4 separate regions of the Homo sapiens genome follow, and all the other regions are linked to region 4. The links are contacts of gene promoters, found by promoter capture Hi-C in blood cells and fetal thymus (Javierre and others, 2016). All regions are on one chromosome and are shown on one strand. Each heading gives the region's core, a stretch centred on a gene start or on the middle of the fragment in contact. The rest is flanking DNA. Distances are from core to core; before and after follow the strand shown. Region 1 overlaps STK4 (serine/threonine kinase 4). Region 2 overlaps STK4 (serine/threonine kinase 4). Region 3 overlaps KCNS1 (potassium voltage-gated channel modifier subfamily S member 1). Region 4 holds the start of PABPC1L (poly(A) binding protein cytoplasmic 1 like).

What was found. Contacts are between HindIII fragments. The CHiCAGO score rates a contact against its expected background, and 5 or more counts as called.
Region 1: a fragment that was not itself captured here is called in contact with the fragment with the promoter of PABPC1L in region 4 in 1 of 17 cell types (M2 macrophages); the score reaches 5.0 in M2 macrophages.
Region 2: a fragment that was not itself captured here is called in contact with the fragment with the promoter of PABPC1L in region 4 in 1 of 17 cell types (M2 macrophages); the score reaches 5.2 in M2 macrophages.
Region 3: a contact is called between a fragment that was not itself captured here and the fragment with the promoter of PABPC1L in region 4, in 1 of 17 cell types (M2 macrophages). The highest score is 5.3, in M2 macrophages.

What each region holds. Positions count from the first base shown.
Region 1 is chr20:45,050,140-45,052,839 of GRCh38, forward strand. The region is part of intron 10 of STK4 (serine/threonine kinase 4); the gene reads left to right. Among named protein-coding and RNA genes, the nearest start is that of KCNS1, 50 kb to the right of the region's middle. RefSeq lists a silencer at 1,691-1,760. The HindIII fragment of the contact is 1,529 bases long and covers 574-2,102 here.
Region 2 is chr20:45,072,391-45,075,090 of GRCh38, forward strand. It overlaps STK4 (serine/threonine kinase 4), which reads left to right. Exons shown (of 11, transcript NM_006282.5): 11 at 2,628-2,700. Among named protein-coding and RNA genes, the nearest start is that of KCNS1, 27 kb to the right of the region's middle. The HindIII fragment of the contact is 2,300 bases long and covers 140-2,439 here.
Region 3 is chr20:45,089,552-45,092,358 of GRCh38, forward strand. KCNS1 (potassium voltage-gated channel modifier subfamily S member 1) reads right to left here. Exons shown (of 4, transcript NM_001322799.2): 4 at 1,663-2,807. Among named protein-coding and RNA genes, the nearest start is that of KCNS1, 10 kb to the right of the region's middle. The HindIII fragment of the contact is 4,256 bases long and covers 1-2,807 here.
Region 4 is chr20:44,908,696-44,911,395 of GRCh38, forward strand. It overlaps PABPC1L (poly(A) binding protein cytoplasmic 1 like), which reads left to right and starts at 1,365. Exons shown (of 15, transcript NM_001372179.1): 1 at 1,365-1,641. The coding sequence starts at 1,449. RefSeq lists a silencer at 1,219-1,548. The HindIII fragment of the contact is 5,219 bases long and covers 917-2,700 here.

The DNA.
Region 1 (2,700 bases), core at 88-2,587, 140 kb after region 4:
CGTGCCATGGCTACAGATTACACATCTCACTCTGGGGGTGTGTGGGGACTGGGAAAGGGGGAGCCAGTTTGGCCTGTGGCACATGTAATTTTTATACTTTGAACTACTGAAATGGGTCTGAGTTCTCCAGCTCTTCACAGACCCCATCACTTCCTGTTTTTGTTTTATGAGCAGACTGTTGAGTTTATTTCTGTTGTCTTTGCCAGTCTCTCAAAACATTTGTGTTTGTGATCTCTGATTTAACCAGTCTCCAGCTGATGGTCATTTAGGTAGCCTTCAGCTTTTTAATATTAATAAATATTGCTTTAATAACATCTTTGCATGGTACGCCCTTAGAATTAATTCCTGCAGTAGAATTATTGGGTCAAACTGTTCACAAATTTGAAATTTTGATACATATTGTTAAATTTCCCTATCGTTTTTGGTATGTGAATTGTTGCTTTATATTATTTACTGAATTTTCCATGGAATTCTTATTTTCTTTATTGATTTTAAAGACTTCTTCAGCTATCAAGTCAGGTTATGAACCTTTTAACATATGTGGTAAAGATATTCTGCTAGAATATCTTTTAAAGCTTTGTATATGGTATCTAACTTCAGACATTTAAATTTTTATATATTTTGATTTATTAGCTTTTTCTTGTGGTTTCTGGAATTTTATGTCATCTTTGGGAAAGTTTTTCACATTCTAAGATTACAAAAATATTAACCCTTACTTTGTTTTAGAATGTTTTATTATTTTTTCTTTCTCAATATTTAATCTATCATGTATTTGTCTTGGTGTTAAGAGTAAGGTAGCAATCGAGCTTTATATTTTTCTAACAACCAAGGGTTTAAAAAATACATAATTAATTTAGAATTACCAAATCTTAATAGCTTATAGTACCTAAAAGTGGCTTGTTTTTACAGATAGAAACTTTCCACTTCAAACTCTGAGTTTTAATGTTTTTCGGCTTTTAAAACCTCTAGAAAGAAACTGTGAACAGAACACCGTATTGGTTTTGGCATTAACCTTAATGCATCTCAAATAGGCTGATTCTACAGAATTTGATCCAAAGTACTTCTATGTCTTGATCCTTTTTTTGCCAAGCAAAATTGATTGTTTCTAACCAAAAGGCCTTTAGTGCTAGACTGAAAGAAAAGTAAGGTGGTCCTTCTGTGCTGGTTGTATTTTATATAATTTGGCATCAAGTACAATGCTTTTTATTTTTCTCTTTAGTTTCTTTCTTTTCTCTAGCCTTTGATGGTCCAGGCCTCTTGTTGCTAGGGGGCTTTTTGGGAGACAAATTCAAATCCTTACTGTCTAGCTCATTGTTATTGTATCTTTTAGTGAGTTCCTTTTTTCATGGTAGTTCAATAAGTGGTTACCAGGGGTCTTTCTTTGACAGTTATTACTAGCTTCTCTTGTATAGTGGGATTTAGCTGTGGGTTGATTTGTTGTGCTGGTATGTTTTCAACTGCAGCGATGCATTGCTCTATCACATGGATTCTTTTTATAGCTTCATTAGAGGTGTTTTAGTTCCTCTTTTGAATATTTATCTGAGTATCTTAGTACCTTGGCAGTCACACTATCCTAAATTATTATAGTGCCTTCTAAAGTAGATTTTGTCATTGAGGCTTATGTTTAGGTCAGGCTTGCAGGCAGGGAGACAGATTATGCCATTGTGGTTGAGAGGCATATAGTGGTTAAAACCACTGGAGTTATTCTGTTAGGGCTCATAGCCTATCTTCTCCACCTATTATGCCACCTGTCTAACCCTTGATTGTCTTATCTGTCAAACATGGTAAAGTCATACCTCTTTCATAGGGCTGTCGTGAGTATCAAATGAGATGCAGGTTGCGTAATCCCAAATCCAAAAATCCAAAATCCAAAACACTTCTGGTCCCAGGCATCTTGGATAAGGGATACTAAACCTGTAATGCACGTAAAGCACCTTTAGGACAATGGTCCTTACTGCTGGCCTGCAATAAGCACTTAATAAATGTTATTATTTTCTTCTTTTTTGGTGTTGGTTTGCTCTTCTATAATGTTACAATGCTATTTTGTTAACCTTCTAGTTGTAAAAACACACTCATTATAGAAAGTTTAGAGACTGAAGAAAAGCTTAAAGAAGAAAATGTCTCTTACAACTCTTCCACCCCCCCCAGCAATAATAATTACATTTTAACATTTCCTTCCAGTTTTTTAATACTTAGATATTATTTTACACAGCTGAGATCATTCTGCATGCATAATAAATCTTGATTTTTTTTCACTTAACATATCTTAAACATTTTCTCATATCATTAAAAACACTTGTGAAATCATTTTTAAGGGTCACATAGTAGCCCATCACATTACATTCTTTTGATTGATTTAATCATCCTCTTTTTACTTGGCATTTAACATTTGGGGCTTTTTTGGTTGGAGTTGGGTTGTTTTCAGGTCGTTCTAATATATTAAGCCAGGCTTTTTTCTTGTCAACAGGAGGTTTGGGGATTGAGTCTTTGTGATTGTTTTTATTGTTGCATTTTTTTGCCTGTTGAGTGTGTGAATTAAGCTGGGGTTTTAACCATCAGCACCTGCGCTCTCAGACTCTTGCCACCACCTTTCTGGACAATCTCCATGCTCTGCTTTTTAAACTTTTTCTGATGAGTTTCTTTTCTTCTGTGCTAGAAGAAAGATGAATGGAGACTATGTTTGGTGTTTAGGTTTCTGAC
Region 2 (2,700 bases), core at 40-2,539, 160 kb after region 4:
CAAGTCTACCCTCCTAATTCCCAGCTCCCCTTCTTTCACACTATTTTTTATTTTCTTTTTTCCAGAGCACCTTCTAATATAAAAATAATTTACTAATTTACTGTGTTTATTGCTATTTTCCTTGCTTCATTAAAATGTAAGCTTCACAAGGGCACTGCTTTTTGTTTGTTTGTTTGTTTTCATTAAAGTAGCCTATGTGCCTCGAATAGCACCTGACCCATAGTAGGTGTTCAATGAGTATTTATAAATGGATGGGTGAAAAATATTTTGTTAAACTGTACATAAGTTAACAGGTATTATGTACCAGCCCTTAGGCATTAGCATGAAATAGAGTAGAATATTTTCTTTTTCACATGTTTGATTCTAGCTTGAATTAGAGGTTACAGAAACAGCTTATTTATGGAAGATTAATTAGAGACTTACCAATCATATGTACAATAATAATAAGAATAACAATAGCAACAATAACAACAGTGATAACATCCATTTGTGGAATATTTACTATCTGCCCAACACATACTATATGAAGTTCTGAGCTAAGACCATCAGACCATTATCTCATGTAAGTCTTAGTACCGCCCCAGGGTGGAGGAACAAAATAGTATTGTCTGTTTTCCAAAGGAGGAAACCGAGGCTCAAGAGGTGAAATTACTGTTTAAGGTTACATAGCCAGTACAGATTTAGGACCTGTGATCCCAAAGATTACATTCTTAACTACCAGTTACATTCAGTAGTAGGCTTGGGGAATTCTCTCTTTGCAGAAGGAATTGAAAATGCCAAAGACTAGGCAAGCATTGCTATTAGGGGTGTCCTTGGGCCAAGAACACCAACCTCTAAGGTAGTATAAAACCACAGGCTGGAAAGATGCATTTTTTTTTTCAGCCCGACTTTCCAGCATTTACCCACACTCTCAAGTCTTCCATTCTCACATTACAAAGAACCTTTCGTCTTGAACTATTAGGGTTTTCTCACTTCTCAGACACCCTCCCTGAAGCAGGCCAAGGAAAATTCCTGTGGTGACAGGCCATTTCTAGGGAGGCCACTGTAGCACTTCACACTTGCTCTCACCCCACCCACTCAAGGAAGGGTAGACAGACAGAGGGCCCTTTACCCAGCTCCTATACTACTTTCCTGTGGAGACCTCAGGAAAGGGCCGAGGATCATGATTTTCTAAATGTGGGCACAACAGACCTCTTGTAAGACTTTGAGTTCTTGAAACACTGTACCTATTAAACTGGTTGTGAGCACACAGAATAAAGTATCACCACCCACTGTGGATAATGTCAGCATTCATTCCCACCCCTGACAGCCAATATTGGCCAGGCTTGGAATCACTGAACACACATGGCAGCAGAGTCCCTTGCCCCATAGCTGCAGACACAGGTTGAACACTGGTGTATCCCTGGGCTTTTATGAAGAGAGAGGCTTATAACACCCATTGCCATCTTTACACACACAGTGCAGCAGGTACTGTGCTGAGAACTTTACAGCCGTGATCTTATTTAATTCTTACAATACATGTGATGAGACACTGCTGTCTGACTTCTGTAGATGGGGAAGGCCTGGAGAGATTGGTAACTTGACAGAGTCTCATGGCATCTGCAACAGGCAGAACCACATTTTAAACAAAGGTTGAGTTACTTCTAAAACCTGTGCTTTGCTAGTCTTCTGTTCTGCAACACTGGTTAAGAGCATAGACTCTAGAGCCATGCTGCCTGGGTTTGAGTCTTGATTCTGCCACTTACTAGTTGGGAGACATTGGGCAGGTTACTTAGCTACCCTCCTCCTTGGGCTGTTCATCTGTAACATAGGGATAATAATGTCCTTGTAGCATGGGTTGCTCTGAGGATTAAAGGAATCCATATATGTAAAGCACTCAGTGTCTGGTGCATAGAAAACACTAAATGCCAGCCATTATTATTAATTTATATATCAACTCATTGTTTTTCTTTGGATGATAGAAACTTAATCTCAGAAGTTTGAGGTTTTTCTAACTACCCACCCTTACCCCAACCCCTGCCAAGGGTTGCGTCTGTATTCCCAAGGGGCTTAGACTGTTACCTGGTATATAGTAGCCTCAAGTAAATGCTGGTGATGATAATAGGGCAGTGCCAAGACATTGGGGGTGTGGGAAGGCAGGGTTAGGGGATGGCATCTGCGCCTCATCAGCATCGATCCTCCATGGTGTCGTATCCTGAAAGTGGGAAAGGCGCTGTCCAGATAGACGCTTATCTCGTAGACAGAACAAGAACGGGGAGGCAACCATTATTTCACATACAGCAAGTTACTGTTATTTTAATGCCCTAACAATGAATCTATATTTAATTAACTTAAAAGATAGGGGAGGTGAGAGTATTATTCACTAAGTTCTTGGTCAAGGCACATTAAATCAAAGCGGTTAGCACTTAGATCTCTTCCAGGGATAAATTATCTCAGACAAGCTTCAAGGTATGCCATGCTTTGGAATGAATTGTCACTTTCCAACCACCACCACTCAACCTGTGATCTGACCACAGTGTCTTCCTCCTGTCTCCCTTCCCTCTGGGTGCCTGGGAAGGCTGGGCTTCTGCACTGTTCTGCCACTGACTTAAGCTTTGTCGTGACTATACCTTCCACTTCTCTTCTAGCTTAAGAGTTGGACAGTGGAGGACCTTCAGAAGAGGCTCTTGGCCCTGGACCCCATGATGGAGCAGGAGATTG
Region 3 (2,807 bases), core at 37-2,536, 180 kb after region 4:
ATTAGTGTTTCTACCAAAGACCTTGCAGGCTGATGACTCCAATCAAAACACCATTAATTTCCTCTGGTAGGTGCAAAATTAGATGGGTCTTGGAAAATGACAGTGGATTACTTTAGTCAGGTGATAATTCCATTTTTAACTGTTGTGTTAGATATATGCTCATCATTACAGTCCCTGGAGTCATGCATCTACTAGTTTCACTCTCTACTCTGAGGAACAGAAACCACTGGAAGCATTTTGCTATTACCTAGAAGGGATAAGAGTTTTCATTTACTGTTCTAACTCAGGCATACCTCTGTTCTCCAGCTCTGTAACAGGAAGGCCTTGATTCCCCGAATATCCCTATTCTAAAAGACAGCAAACTAATTTTGACTAAATCAGTTGACTAAATCACATTAACAGGGCCTGGAGAGCACAAAGGAGCAGACACTTCAGCTCTGTAGGTAAGACACACCTTTTACAAGGTGGGAGATAAATCCAGTGCATCTCAGTGAAGTTTCTTAGAGTGTCCAGTACCCTGGACATATGTGTAGTACTTCTATCACCACAAAAGAAGTACAGTGTTAATTTGGATTTTGTTGCTTCTACCGCTATCAGATCCTGGCTTGCTACTGGGCTTTGATGGTGAATGAAGGCCTAACTATGGGATATCAGGTAATCTGATGACCCAACGTGACAAACTACGATATCATCCATCCAGATAGAAAGTCAAGCATGCCTAGTAAGGACTCCATCATCAAGTGTATCCATGGGTACATGGGATTTGGCTCACGTAGACCCTAATGATGTAAGTTGATTGCATGAGAAGTTTGCTTTCAATCAAGTTGCATGTTTTCTGATTAAACCCAATGACCCACTTGCAAATCTATTGCTTCCTATCCTATGACTCTGAGCTCTGCTGACTTAAGAGATTTTGGTACCCAAGGGAAGAATACTTCTTTGGTACTCAAGGAAGAATACCCTGAATCGGAGACTGAGCCTGTCACCTGGACTTTCGGAGCTTTTCTTTTCCCTATGTGTGTATAAAGGGAGTTACAGTCTTGATTAGGGTAATCAACCACCCTGTCAAGGGGAAATATGGTTACTGCTACACAAAGTAGGCAGAAAGGAATGCAAGTAACTCCATGGAATTCCTTGGGGAATCTTCACATGCCAGCAGGACTAACAAGTGCTCAGATTCGCTAGGAATAAAGGTTTAGGTTACCCCATCAAAAAAAGAATCCCAACCAACTAAAGTGCTGGCCAAAGGCAGGGGGCATGACATGGCTCACAGAGAAGGGATGTTATAAATGCCAGCAGCAGCCTTATGACCATTACAGAAATGAAGACATAGCAATGGCCTCTTTTCCTCCTTGCTGTGTTTTTCTTTTCCTTTCCTCTAGTATCATATAGGGTATGCTGGTGGCAGTTACATTTACCATTTATTCCTTATATTACAGGATATTGAGACAGAATTAGTGGTACCAGTGGAAGAATGAACTTATAGCTGGATTCATGAACAGGATATGCCCCATAGGGTGTCTTTCCTTTGGGGAGATCGGTATATGTTGGTTATATATAAGAGAGTTTCCTTATGTTAGAAACATGCATAAATCGTGTGTATGGGAAAAGGATGGGAGTGTATGGTATGCTATTTTTGCTTATCAATAACTTTTGCCTTTCTTTTGGTGACAATAGGTGGTCTTTTATTTGGGTAAGTACCTTTCCTCCAACTGCCGCAAATACTAATACGGTACCTTGCCCTCCATCCCTCCCAAGAGAGAGGCATATGACTCAAGTGAAATCAGACTCTCTCCTGGGATTGGAACTGTGAGCAGGATGATACAGGGAAGGAAGTTGACTGGAGGCAGATCATGTGGGTAGCAGTGTCTTAAACAGAAGGTTCATGAGTCTTGCTACTGAGGTCCCTAGAGCTCCCCTCATTCCTGTATTTCCTGAGGCCTCGTCAGTCAGCTCTTCCTTTGGTCGGGTGAATTTCACAGATACCCTTCTGTAGTGGGCCAGATGGTGGCCCCAAACACCTGTCCATATTTTAATCTCTGGAACCCGTAACTATTACCTTATTTGGGAAAGGGTCTTTTTGCAAATGTGGTTAAGTTAAGGATCCTGAGATGAGGTCATCTTGGATTATCCTGGTGGGCCTAAATGTCATCAAAAGTGTCCTTGTAAGACAGAGGCACTGGAAGACTTGACATACACAGACACTGAAGTGAGATCAGAGGCAGAGACTTGAGTGATGCAGCCACAGCCAAGGAAAGCCAAGAATGGTGGCAGCCACCACAAACTAGAAGAGAAAAGGAGAGGGTTTCCCCCTGGAGTCTCCAGAGGGAGGGTGGCCCTGCTGACATCTTGATTTTGGATTTCTGGCCTCCAGAACTGTCAGAGAATACACTTCTACTGTTTTAAGCCATCAAGTTTGTTTGAATTTGTTACAGCAGCTGCTGGAAACTAATATATCTTCCAATAAATTCATTTTTTGCTTGATGTCAGTTTGTTGCTTATACCCTCAAACTCTAATTGTTAACAGTCATTCATCACTTTAATTATTTTATAAATTACCCTTTTTGACCAAGTTTGTTCCAACTGAATTCCTGTCACTTGCAACCTGTTCTGGCTGGCACAACCACAAAGTTTGTGCCAAATCCAGGACTGGAGCCTGAGAATGTGGATTCCAAGTCATTCCACATATTGCCCACCCTCTCCAATCACTCAGACAGCATGTCAGGGAGCCATCTCCATACAAGCAGAAACACGTCCTGGGGCCCAGCTCTTTATTTGCATAATGGTTTTCACTGATACATGGGAAG
Region 4 (2,700 bases), core at 115-2,614:
ACAGCCTCTTTACACCCGTTACTTGATACCTCTCTACCTTCCACAACAAACCATGCAGGTATTAGGTCCTCTTTAGTGACTTCTAAGATTTGGTATGGACAGTTATTTTGCATTGTATTCGAGCCCACCATCCCTTCCCCATTTTTTAACTCTGAGATACAACCAAGCCAGTGAAATAGGTAACCTATGGTTGCATAAGTCTTGGTCATCACCAAGCTGGCGTCTCACCTGTCCTCACACTGTATGGTGGCCTGCAGAGCTGGTTCCTCACAGGATTTGCCCCTTCTGAAAACATCCACATTACCACAAGGAGAGAAAAATATCAGGATAGAGGGGTCTTTTTTAGCCCAAGATTAGAATTAGTGCTTCCTTGCTACTCTGAGGCTGGACAGCCAGATGGGCACCTTCTGTCCCTAGTTTAGGAGCTGTTCCACCTGTTGAAGCCACACTCAACCAAAAGTCAGTGGGGGCCTACCTGCTCTGTTGGATCAGTGAGACCAGGAAAGTCCTATCAGAGGAAAAGTGAAGTATTGGTGCTCAGTGGAGTAGTTGTTTTGTTTTTGTGTTGTTTTTAATGTCCCTATACCACAGATTGACGCTGCAAGCTCAGATTCACAGTCTTGCTCTGTTTAGGTCTTGCTCTGCTATTAGTTCCCAATTGTCCGCATTTAGGCTGAGCCACAAGTAACTCAGTGAACCTCCCTGGTGTAATGGATGTGTAATGGCTTAGCAGAGGGACAGGGAATATCCCAGGAAAAGGGGTCTTGGTAATATGAGCCAGTACCAAGAAAGGCCTTAGTGGTCTCCAGTTCTCATGTCTCAAAGCCATTTCCATCCTTGGTGCGAAACGGTGGGACTGGATCAGGCTCTCTGGAGGAAGACATCTTCAATGGAGCAGGGTAAAATTCTCTACACAAGCTTTGAAACAGTGGCCTGTTCGGAATTCCGTTTGTGTGTGAAACGCAAAAAGCGCGGTTTGGGTCTCCTTTCATTCTTGTCAGGAGGGAATCATTCCCATTTTACAGAGAAGGGAAACGGGTTCAGAAAGATGATCATCTGTTCCGGGGTTAGAACTCAGTCCCCTGCGTCCTTTCCGTCCCAGTCCTCGGCTCTTTCAAAAGAGCTGGGGGTTTTGAGAGCTCCACTCAAGTCCCAGCAGCCCTGCTCAAGGCCAGGTTGAAGGCTTTTTCCGCCTCCCAGGGCGGGGTCAGAGGTGTCCCCACCTGTAGCTTTTAGATCCCCAAGTGCTCGCAGGTGGGGGGTGGGCCCAGGAGGGATCCCGGGGGAGGGGCGTCCGAGCGCGCCCACGATTGGTGCGCAGGGACGCGGGGGCGGTAAAGGGAAGGGGCGGGCCCGCGCCCAGGAAGGAGGGCTTCCGCCCGGGTGAGCGCGGGGCTGCTGGGTGACCCGGCTCCTGCTTGCCCCGCAGCCCCGGCCCCCTGCCCACCATGAACGCCAGCGGTTCTGGCTACCCGCTTGCCTCGCTTTACGTGGGCGATCTGCACCCCGACGTGACCGAGGCCATGCTCTATGAGAAGTTCTCTCCCGCCGGCCCCATCCTGTCCATCCGCGTGTGCCGCGATGTAGCCACCCGGCGCTCGCTGGGCTACGCCTACATCAACTTCCAGCAGCCCGCGGACGGTGAGCCCCGGGGATGGGGCGGGAGGGGAAGGACCGACGGACAAGCAGGCGGACAGACAGAAGCCGGAACTGGGCCGCTTGCGCTTTCATCTTACACTTTGCAGCCGGGGAAACTGAGGCTCAAAGATAACAGGGCGTTGGCAGAGGCCTGGCCCCTGAGACGGGAATTGGTAATTAGTGTGGTTTACTGCTATTCCTCTACAGAGGAGAGAGATTAGGGTCGAGTGAAAACAGATACAGGCTTTGTGGGGGTGGGGGTGGGGGTCAGGCGGACCAGGGATAGAAGCCCAGCAGCCGTGTGACTCTGGGCAAGTTACTCGACCATTCTGAGCTTCAGATGCGTGTCTGGAAAATGGGGGTCCTAGCTGCCTTATAGAGTGCTTGTGAGGATGAGAGATTCAAAGCACCTGGTGAGGAAGATGCCCAAGGCAACACAGCTGGTGAGCAGGGGAGGCAGGAGAACCCAGCCTTGGGCTCAGGCCTTTCCCAGCGCGACGTGAGATCCACACTGGGCGCCTCTACCTGCACGGGCTCTGAAAAACCGCTGCCTCCAGGCCGCAAGGCCGCTTTCTCAGAGCTGATAGCATTGATTAGAGCTTGTCCGATGAGTTTGCCTGCACTTCTGTTGAGAGTGGAGAGGATGAGTGAGCTTGGGCAAGCCTTCACGCTCTGCACCTTTTCATCTGCAAAATGGGGCTAAGGCGTATTCTCCAATAACATAAAGAATGGAGAACTGCTGTCTATGCATAAAGAATGGTAACTGCTTGTTACCTCGTAAACGCTCTTAAGTGGTAACCTAAAATAAATAAATAAATAAATAAATAAATAAATAAATAAATAAATAAGGCCAGGCGCAGTGGCTCACGCCTGTAATCCCAGCATCTTAGGAGGCCGAGGTGGGCAGATCACTTGAGGTCAGGAGTTCGAGACCAGCCTGGCCAACATAGCGAAACCCTTTCTCTACTAAAAATACAAAAAATAGCTGGGCATGATGGCGGACGCCTGTAATCCCAACTGCTGGGGAGGCTGAGGCACGAGAATCGCTTGAATCCGGGAGGC